Linked DNA regions of Homo sapiens: region 1 is linked to region 2. Evidence: promoter capture Hi-C in 16 types of primary human blood cells and fetal thymus (Javierre and others, 2016). All regions are on one chromosome and are shown on one strand. Each heading gives the region's core, a stretch centred on a gene start or on the middle of the fragment in contact. The rest is flanking DNA. Distances are from core to core; before and after follow the strand shown.

Region 1 (5,134 bases), core at 1,378-3,877, 590 kb before region 2:
TTTGTGCTGGGATGGGGCAGAGGGCAGATAAGTCCTTAGGTTTTTATATCTGTGTTCTTCATGGTAAAGCTCTAGTATGGAGAAAATGAGCGAAAAAACTCTTTGTTTTGGGAGGAGTTAGTGTTTTTTTTTAAAAAGGCTGGCCGGGCGAGGTGGTGCATGCCTGTAATCCCAGCACTTTAGGAGGCCGAGGTGGGTGGATCACCTGAGATCAGGAGTTCACGAGCAGCCTGACTAATATGGTGAAACCCTGTCTCTACTAAATACAAAAAAATTAGCCGGGCATGGTTGTGGGTGCCTGTAATCTGAGCTACTTGGGAGGCTGAGACAGGAGAATTGCTTGTACCTAGGAGATGGACGTTGCAGTGAGCTGAGATCGCGCCATTGCACTCCAGCCTGGGCAACAAGAGCGAAACTCTGTCTCAAAAAAAAAAAAAAAAAAAAAAAAGGCCTTGGAGTGGTTCTTAGGGGCTGGTGTTGAAGGGACAAGCTTTTCAATGAGACACTGCTGTCTGAATCCAGTTCCCGCTTTGAATGGAAAAGGCTGCATAAATGCCTGGAAGACCTGGGAACCAAGAGCCAATGCACTGGGAGACCAAGAGGGGCCCCCAAGTTCATGGAGGACCTGCGTTCCACAGCTGGCCTGGGCAGGGGACAGTGGAATGAGGTTTTCCTTCGGCCACGGACCCTGCAGCAGGAAGAAGGAACTGCGGCTCTGCAATAGGAGACTCAAGTTTCCCATTTCCCATTGACAGTAGAGTCTGGTGGACTTCCTTGGTGGCAGATTCCTCTGCGATGGCAGCCTGCCCTCCTACCTAATTTCTGGGGATCAATTACTGCCCTCGAACCCACCATCTCTGGAATGGCACCTGCGACTGCTGTGCCATTCTGTATATTATGGGGTAGCCGGTCGTACTTCTCAAGCCCATCCCTATGAGAGAGTTAAATTCTCCAATTCATGGTTCAAGAGGTTTTTTTCCCCTTTCATTTCATCCATACCACTGTCTGCCCAACATTGTGACAAGAAATTCAGGGCTGCCTTCCCAAGTTATGAGTTGTGACCAATGATCAACCTAACGAATTTTGATCAGATCTGTGGGTCAGAAAATTGGAACAGGAAGTAATCTGTAGGCGTCTCCCAGGGACAAATAAATAGCCAGTTTGGATTTCCTCCAGGTCTGGTCTAGGCAGGTAGGTGGTCAGAACCATGCCAGCTTGTCTAGCCACAGCGAACATTTTGTGAGGATGTGAGTGGGTGTCAAGTGGCTCGCCTGGGTGGGCAGATGTACCCCTCTTCCTGGATCCCCTGGCATATGGGCATTGGTGAGACTGCAGAGCTGTGACCAGGTACAGCAGAGAAGAGAGCCCCAAACATGGAAGAGGGCATGATGGGAGATGCTGGAGAGGAGAGAAAATTTCCATTTGGCTTTTTGAGCTTCTTGTCAGGTCCTCAGAGCACAGCAACTTGGCAGCTCTCTGCGTGCCCCATTCCTAGTCTTCCTTCATGAATTTTTCATTTCAGGCAAAGAGCCCTTATCTTTCGCTGGAGCTGCTTTCCCATCAGCTGGTGACTAGGCAGATGAAGGTTGCATTAAGGCAGGAATTATCCATCCCTTGAGAGAGAAATGGCACTCTGTGCCCTTGAAAGGATGGCTTCTGCGCCACCACCCATTACTGCAGGCTTCTGTCCAACGTTGGATTGCTGTTTTTATTGAGATATTGTTGAGGGCTGAAAGAGAAAGGCTTCAAGGGCAGATACTATGGTCTTGTCTGAAGAGTGAGGTCTTTCCTGCTGCCAATCATTGGACATGAGGGGGCTCCACAGCAGGAAAGAGGAATTAAGAAGGGACTTGGCCTGTCACAACCCAGATTTCCAGGAGTCTCGATGTCCAGGGGCACTCCTGAGGGATGGAGGGAGTTAAGGATGTCATCTCTCCTTGTCCCCATCCCCTGGGCCCAGAGCAGGAGAAGCTCCTGCTGTGCACCTCCTCGGGCCATGTTCCTTTCTACAAAGGGAGTCCATACACCCACCCAAGACTAGGCTCCGTGTACCAGGACCCCAGAGTTTCTGTCCAAATTACAGCAAGCCCTCTTCTGTGCCTGCGGGGCATCTTCATTTTCTCTAGGTCTCTCTTCCCAAGAGTGGACCTCACTACCTGTGTTCACATGCTAGGTACTAGGAGTGGCCAAGGGGTAGCTGTTTTCAGGGTTGTAAGGGGTGTGGGTGTGGAGGAAGCTTGGATGTGTGAGCTGGAGTATCCACACGTATGTGAGGCTCCTCACGATCTGAAAGGATGAGCGTGGGTGGGTGGACCTGGGGCCAGAAGTGGAGAGCCAGGGGAATGGATCTCCAAGGAGGCTGAAAATCCTAAAAGTCAACCTGGTCTTTTAGGTGGTTATGAAGGTATCTACCTCAAGGCGGAAGGATGGAGCATACTTCATTTAAGGGTTTATCAGCTTGACTGAACAACTTGAAAATATGCAGACATAGAGTATGTGAGCTTCCATTCGTTCTCTTGCCTGGCGCCCCACAAATGTTGGTGGGCTTAATTTGTAAGTGGGGAGCTAGGGAGTCCTAGTCCTGGGGTCCCTGATGGACTGGGTAGAGGGCGAAGAGCTGCAGGAAAGAAGTCAGACCTGGCAAACTAAAGTTTTGACTCACGGTGTCCCCTGAATCTATCTTCGTTTTCTTAGTCCTCAGCTTTTAGGACAGTGTGATTGGAAAGTTCTGGCAGGTTTGTTTCTTTCTTTTTTTTTTTTCATTCCTTCTTATTAATAGCGGGTTTCACTGGGAAGCCGCATGGTGGCAATAGATGGCCCCAGTTGGAGAGGGAGCAGCGCCACCCTGAGGCCATGGAGGGAATGGCAGCAGGAATGGGGGTGAGCCCAACGGGGCCTGCCTCTCAGGAGCCCATGCACCAGGCACGCCCCCACCGTGATTCCACGACCATGGCTAAACAAGAAGGGGCTGTATTCTTACCCTCTTACCAAAAATAGCATTTTCACCATTGAAGCTTCCCAAAGAACTCTCAGCTGTTTGCTAACCATGAAAATCAATCCTTGGAGTTCCAGAGGCGGCCAGTCCCCAACTTCCCAGTGGTCACTGTGTAACCCCTGCCCTACCTCATCTTCAGAAACCCCATCATCACTGCGCCAAACCCCAAAGGGAAGTGGAGATGAAGGAAGGGAATTAGCTATGAGCAGCTTAGAAGAGCTAACCCGGGGGTGGCTTCTCAAGCAGAACTCACATGCTTACAAAGGGGCTTCAATAGATCCTTTACCCTTTTCACTTAACACTTTTAAAAATGGTATCACGCTGGCCTAGCGCAGTGGCTCATGCTTGTAATCCCAGCACTTTGGGAGGCTGACGCAGGCGGATCACCTGAGGTCAGGAGTTCAAGACCAGCCTGCTAACACGGTGAAACCCCATTTCTACTAAAAATACAAAAAATTAGCCGGGCGTGGTGGCGTGTGCCTGTAATCCCAGCTACTCAGGAGGCTGAGGCAGGAGAATCGCTTGAACCCGGGAGGCGGAGATTGCAGTGAGCCGAGATGGCGCCATTGCACTCCAGCTTGGGCAACAAGCGCAAAACTCCATCTCAAAAAAAAAAAAAAAAAAAAAAGGTATCACTTATAAACTGGATTAACAGTGTGAAAAAAATTTAATGCCTACTGACTATATTTCCTGACTGCCTGCACACAAACTCTGACAGGTAGAGATTGCTATTGTCCCATTTTACAGACAAGAAAACTGAGGCCCAGTGAGGTGAATGACTCACTCAAGGTCATGTTGTAATAAGTAGTGCTGCTGGGTCTGATTTTTTTCATTGCACTGTTCTATCTTTTGCAAGCACCCTGAAGGAATTTTATTTTTTTATTTTATTTTTTTGAGATGGAGTCTTGCTCTGTCGCCCAGGCTGGAGTGCAGTGGTGCGAACTCGGCTCACTGCAAATTCCACCTCCCGGGTTCACGTCATTCTCCTGCCTCAGCCTCCTGAGTAGCTGGGACCACAGGCACCTGCCACCATGCCTGGCTAATTTTTTTGTATTTTTAGTAGAGACGGGGTTTCACCGTGTTAGCCAGGATGGTCTCGATCTGTGCCCGGTGCCTGAAGGAATTAAAGATTCAAATTCCTGCCACAATCCTGCACTGGGGCATGGTGTTCTTTCTTACTGTGTCATTCAAGTTGCAAAATCCATACATATTCTTGTAACTAAGCAAATATCTCCAATGCCATCTCCTGAGGTGAGCAATATTAACAGTTTTGTGAGTTTTTTTCCTATTATTTTCCCTAGGAAGATACGAATAGTTACAAATTAAAAATTCGTAGAGGGATTCCCACCTCCATTTACAAAATTTTAATTAAAAGCAAAAATCAGGCTAGGCGTGGCAGCTCACATCTGTAATCCCAGCACTTTGGGAGTCTGTGGTCAGAGGATTGCTTGAGGCCAGGAGTTTGAGACCAGCCTGTGCAACATAGGCAGACTCTGTCTCTACAAAATATTTTTAAAAATTAGCTGGGCATGGTGACTCCAGCTACTCAGGAGGCTGAGGCAGGAGGATTGTGTGAGCCCGGGAGGTCAAGACTGCAGTGAGCCGTGATCACGCCACTGCACTCCAGCCTGGATGACAGAGTGAGACCCAGTCTGTAAAAACAAAAAAGCAAAAATCACATTACACAATTAGTTTGTAAACTACATTTTCCCTTAGCCACATATCATGATCATTTTGACAAGTAATATTGATTCATCTCACTTCATCTCACTCTTAATAGCAGTTCAATATTTCATAGTATAGAATATGCTATGGATTATTCAACCGCCCCCATATTGGTAGACATCCAGGGTGTTTCTAGTGATTTTTGCTATTATCAATAATATTGTGATAAACATCTCTGTAAATATTATAAACTAGTAGGCTGTAATCCCAGCACTTTGGGAGGCCGAGGCCAGCGGATCGCTTGTGGTCCAGAGTTCAAGACCAGCTTGGGCAACATGGTGAAATCTCATCTCTACAAAAAAATACTTAAAATTAGCTGAGCATGATGGCATTCGCCTATAGTCCCAGCTACTCAAGAGGCTGAGGCAGGAGAGAGAGGATCGCTTGAGTCCAGGAGGCAGAGGTTGCAGTGAG
Region 2 (5,194 bases), core at 247-2,746:
TGCCAGACATCACGCCTGGCTAGTTTTTGTGCTTTTAGTGGAGACGGGGTTTCGCCATGTTGGCCAGGCTGGTCTCGATCTCCTGACCTCAAGTAATTCGCCCACCTTGGCCGCCTAAAGTGCTGGGATTAAAGGCATGAGCTACTGCACCCGGCCAGGAGTTAGACACTTATGATTTCATACTTCCAACCAATGCTTACCTCCATTATATTATTGAGCAGATTATGGTTAAAATGTTTGCATGTTTGTCTTCCCTCAAAGACTGTGAACTACTTGTGGGGAGGAATGATCTTTTGTATCTGTATTCACGGCACCTAGCATGGTGTCTCACTCATAGTAGATTCTTGGTAAATGTTTGTTAAATGGATGTGAAGTTAAGTGGATGTGTATACAGCATACAGAGGTGGTGGCACTGGTGGGAAGCAAGATGCCAGTTCCTAGGGCTGAGCACAAAACCCACCCTGGACCATCCGTAAGACGTGCAGGAACATCTGTTCCATCGCTAGCGCCCTCTACCTCCCCATTTTGTTTTGGAGGCAGGGAAGGTTATTGGTCTGAAAAGATCTCCATCTCAGAAGAAAAGAACGCTGATACATGTTATGGATATCTCACATTCACTCATTGATTTAACGAATGTTCACTGAACATTTACTCTGTACCACGGCTCATCTGATTCTCACAACCTCTCTCAGCATTATCCGCATTTTTAGATGAGAAGGCTGAGGCTCAGATTTATTTGCATAAGGTCCCACGGATAGCAAGTGACATAGCTGAAAATTCACTGGTTCTGACTCTGGAGGGTGTCGGGCAAGAGTCAGGGGTTGCGGGTCTCCAGAGGGCTGGTCCAAGTGGGGCTCACCTGAACTTGGTGTGGCTGGGAGCCGCGTTCTGTTCAACTTTCTGCTTGGCCGCAGCGTCTTGGAGCTGTCGAGCGCCTGTGCAGATGGTCCCGGCCGGCGTTCTGGCCACGACCCTGCTGGGAAGAAAAGCTCGGTGAGGGCCACGGCCTAACGGTCACTGGGGCCCGGGTGGCTCAAGGGACACGAGTAGGAGCATAGTCCTGGAGGTGGCGGTGGGCTCGAGGGGGCAGTCATTTGTTACCCGGCTGTCTGGGGCCAAGTCCAGGACCGCAGGAACCGCGACCCCGCGTTTCTCACAGCCTGCATGACTTGAATTGACCCCAGTCAGTTTCCGTCTGCAGCGACAGTCACAGCTGCGCCGGCGCCGGTACCATGAGTGCCTGTCGGGGAGGGGACAGAAGGGAAAGTCATCTACTCTTCATTAGGTCCACTGAATATTTTTATTTCCATTTAAATGCTCAATAAGACTTTCACTGTAGTTCACCAGGGGATTCTTTCCCTTTTTTAATGTTCTGAGATGGTGGGTCACCCCCTCCATATGCGAATGGTTCGTTCTAGCAGTTCCGGGACTGAGCTTTCCCCTAGTTTGCCGCTCCCGCGGCTGAGGGATCCCTGGGAGCCGCGGTGCATTGTGGGAGAACGAAAGATGGCGGCGCCCGTAAGGCGGACGCTGTTAGGGGTGGCGGGGGGTTGGCGGCGGTTCGAGAGGCTCTGGGCCGGCAGTCTAAGCTCTCGCAGCCTGGCTCTTGCAGCCGCACCCTCAAGCAACGGATCCCCATGGCGCTTGTTGGGCGCGTTGTGCCTGCAGCGGCCACCTGTAGTCTCCAAGCCGTTGACCCCATTGCAGGAAGAGATGGCGTCTCTACTGCAGCAGGTGGGACTGAGATGCAGGGTTCAGAGTGACGTTTATTCTGCGTGACTTTGAGCGAGTAATTTCACCTCTCTGAACTTAAGTATACGGTACTTATCCGCAGAATGGTACCTACCTTACTGACTTGGTTTGGTACATAGATGTTCAACAAAAAGTGGTTTCTTTTCATTGGCCGTGTTTATTGTCACCTTAGACAACTCTTTGGAGATACTCTACTTCTTGTTCATGCAACACAATAGGGATCCTGTGGTGAACAAGAATCGGTCCGTGTCACTAGGAGCTTACAAGTCTGGAGGGAGAAAGTCTTTGTGATGTGATGAATGTTAAGAAGGAAATACAAGAGGCGGTGGGCACATCTGTCAGATGCCTATGATAAGCCTACTCTGTTTTATCTCATGGGGCTATCTGTGTGAGGGGCAAGTGAGGAAGCATGGGCAAAAACAGTGTAGTGGCTGTGAAGGTGTGAGGTCGCTACAGAAAGTGTTTGAAGGGTGATATGTTTCCTCAGAATCCGAGATGTTTTTGTCTTGGTCTGTTGAGAACTATAAACTTCTCTTCTGTGCTTTTTGCTTGATTTATTCATTTACTCGCTCGCTTGACAAATATTTGTTACTCAACCTACAGATGTTCATTGTGCCCATACTATGCATCAGAGAGTATGTTAAGTGATAGAGATGCTGTAATGAATAAGGCAGAAGTAGCTCTGGTTCTCAGAGTACTTCAGTCTAGTTGAGTGAGGGGATCAGTCAGTAACCAAATAATCATACAACTAAATGCAGACCCTGATAAGTGTTGTTAAGGAAAACACAAGGCACTATAAGAGTGTTTAACAAATACATCACATTTTGATTTTATGGTGAGTGTCAAGGAATGCCTCAGACTTTCTGAATACAGGTTTTTCTCTTTATGAGAAATGTCTCTCTGAGACAGTCATATTTAAATTGAAATCAGAAAGATGAGTAGGACTCTCCCAGAAGAAAGAATGTGAGGAAAAACATTCTAGGAAGAAGGAACAACCTCTTGAAAGTCCCTGAACAGGAAAGTCCTTGGTGAGTGAGATTCTGATCAAAGACTGACATGACTGGATTGTGGTGAGTCAGCAGGCATTGCCCAACCCAGCTCTCTGTTTTTGTAGCACTCTTGACCCCCAGTGACATTGTAACATTTTTGGCAAATGTAACTCAAGCCCAAAGTTCAGAGGACCTTTTTTTCCCTCCATTTCCTTTCTGCATGGTGTTTTGACTGTGTATCTGGTTATGTTGGGTGATAAACTTCTGAGCTTGCCAAGTGTGCCATGTCTCTGTTTTATTCTTCCTGTTTTTTTTTTCCTTTTAATTTTGCCAGATTAAGGTAGTTTTTTGCCCTTTGAATTTTCCCAGATTGAGATAGAGAGAAGCCTGTATTCAGACCACGAGCTTCGTGCTCTGGATGAAAACCAGCGACTGGCAAAGAAGAAAGCTGACCTTCATGATGAAGAAGATGAACAGGATATATTGCTGGCGCAAGATTTGGAAGATATGTGGGAGCAGAAATTTCTACAGTTCAAACTTGGAGCTCGCATAACAGGTTGTGATCCTTTTAGGCCAGCCAGAAGGAAGGGAAAAGGGGTATTTGGATTCCCAAATAAAAGACAGTTGCTTGGCCCCTGCTTTGTGTTTTAAGTAACAAATAATTTCATATTCTTTTCTTTGTTGCTCACATCTACCATAATACGACTTAAAAAGTCTGTCTTATTTTCGGGTGAGAGGTAAGGGTATTGGAATAGCCTTTTCTCTCAGTTAAACTTTGTGAATGTTATCTGTGTTTAACTCCAAGTTTGAGACTGAGAGTGGGGCAAATGAAGCCTTTTTCCACTAATTCCTGTGTTTTATGTGAAATCCCTCTTAAAGCGGGAGATTGAGTTCTGTTTTCCTTGTTTCACAGATGAAGACTGAAGAACAGAGAAAGTAGGGGCTAGTTAAGTCAGTAATAGTATCAAAACCAATGAAGTAGTTGTGTTTGAATTAGTATGATCATTGTTTCTTTTTTGAAGACTCAAAATATGGTTTGCTGTTCAAAGAAGCTTACCTCTTGATTTCTTACCTTTTAGTTTCCTCAAGATTGTGAGACTCTTCCCTGGAAGAGGTCAGAGTTAGAGAGATGGGTCGAGGTGTAATTTGGTTCTAAGCTCTTTGAGGGCAAGGATTGTGGATCTTAAAGGAAGATTGTAAAACTCCAGGTTTCTTGGTTCTGGCAGATCACAGTCTTCTTACCTCCTCTGACCCCCTTTGCTGTAGAAGCTGATGAAAAGAATGACCGAACATCCCTGAACAGGAAGCTAGACAGGAACCTTGTCCTGTTAGTCAGAGAGAAGTTTGGAGACCAGGATGTTTGGATACTGCCCCAGGCAGAGTGGCAGCCTGGGGAGACCCTTCGAGGAACAGCTGAACGAACCCTGGCCACACTCTCAGGTGGGTTTTCTGCCTTCCTCTAAATTCCACAAAATTCACTTCAGACTCAGCCAGAGGATTTTTAGGCTGACTGGGGAATTGGATTAAGGGTGGGGGTGGGAAGGTTAATGGAAATTTTGAAGTTTATAAAAATTTCAGCCAGAAAAACCCAGGTAAGGATTTTTTTTATTTTTTTTTTATTTTTATTTTTAGACCAGGTGAGAATCCTTTGTTCCACTGAGATTTTAAAATTTAGTACATTCAAAATTGATATTTCTACCATTTTCTCAGCCTGCTTGTCTTCTTATCTTTGCAGCACTGCTTATTGCCATCACTGCTTATCTGTTCACTCAACTTGAAACCTCAGAATTGTCCTTGACCTCATTCCCACATCCATAAGTCCTTGAGTCCCTCGTGATCTGTTCTAAATAGTCCCCTCTTTGTTCTAACAGCTTTAGCTGTGACCCTCTTCACTTCTCACTAGACTAGGGTTTCCCATCTCTGGCATTATTGGTGTTTGGGGTCGGATAAGTGTGGGGAGCTATTCTTTGTGTTATAGGATGTTTAGCAGTATCTCTGGCCTGTACCTACTAGATGCCAGTAGCACTACCTCATCCCCTGACCCCACCCCCAGTGCAGTAACCAAAAATATCTCTAGACATGGCCAGATATTTCCCAGGGAGCAAATTACAGTGGTTGAGAAGTACTATACTGAGCTATTGAATTAGATGCCCAGTAAGTTTAACCTTGGTTTTGTGGAGTGCCCTTCAGTGCTGCCAAAATGAGCTTTCTGAAACACACATCCCTTGTCACTTCTCTGCATGGAATTCTTAAAAGGTTTCCAATAAAAATTCTAACTGTCAAGCATGGCCTGCAAATCTTATTTGCCCTGATCCCAGTCTCATCAGTCTGCCGTCTTGCTGTTCATTAATGTAAAATTCAAGTTCTAACTTAACAAACCTTTTGCATTCCTTGAATAGTATGGTCTTTCATGTGTCTCTGCTTTGGGGCCTGCTGGTCCCTGATGAAATACT

Evidence for each region. Contacts are between HindIII fragments. The CHiCAGO score rates a contact against its expected background, and 5 or more counts as called.
Region 1: a fragment that was not itself captured here is called in contact with the fragment with the promoter of MRPL46 in region 2 in 5 of 17 cell types (naive CD4 T cells, naive B cells, total B cells and 2 more); the score reaches 7.0 in naive CD4 T cells.

The regions. Positions count from the first base shown.
Region 1 is chr15:89,055,398-89,060,531 of GRCh38, reverse strand. The region is part of intron 1 of CARMAL (coronary artery disease region linked MFGE8 regulatory lncRNA); the gene reads right to left. It also overlaps a transcript of ABHD2 not described here. Among named protein-coding and RNA genes, the nearest start is that of CARMAL, 17 kb to the right of the region's middle. RefSeq lists an enhancer at 697-1,197. The HindIII fragment of the contact is 778 bases long and covers 2,239-3,016 here.
Region 2 is chr15:88,463,690-88,468,883 of GRCh38, reverse strand. MRPL46 (mitochondrial ribosomal protein L46) reads left to right here and starts at 1,496. Exons shown (of 4, transcript NM_022163.4): 1 at 1,496-1,734; 2 at 3,111-3,297; 3 at 4,008-4,181. The coding sequence starts at 1,507. MRPS11 (mitochondrial ribosomal protein S11) reads right to left here and starts at 1,176. Exons shown (of 6, transcript NM_022839.5): 1 at 1,102-1,176; 2 at 860-976. The coding sequence starts at 1,166. RefSeq lists enhancers at 1,326-1,495, 1,962-3,161. The HindIII fragment of the contact is 6,788 bases long and covers 1-3,795 here.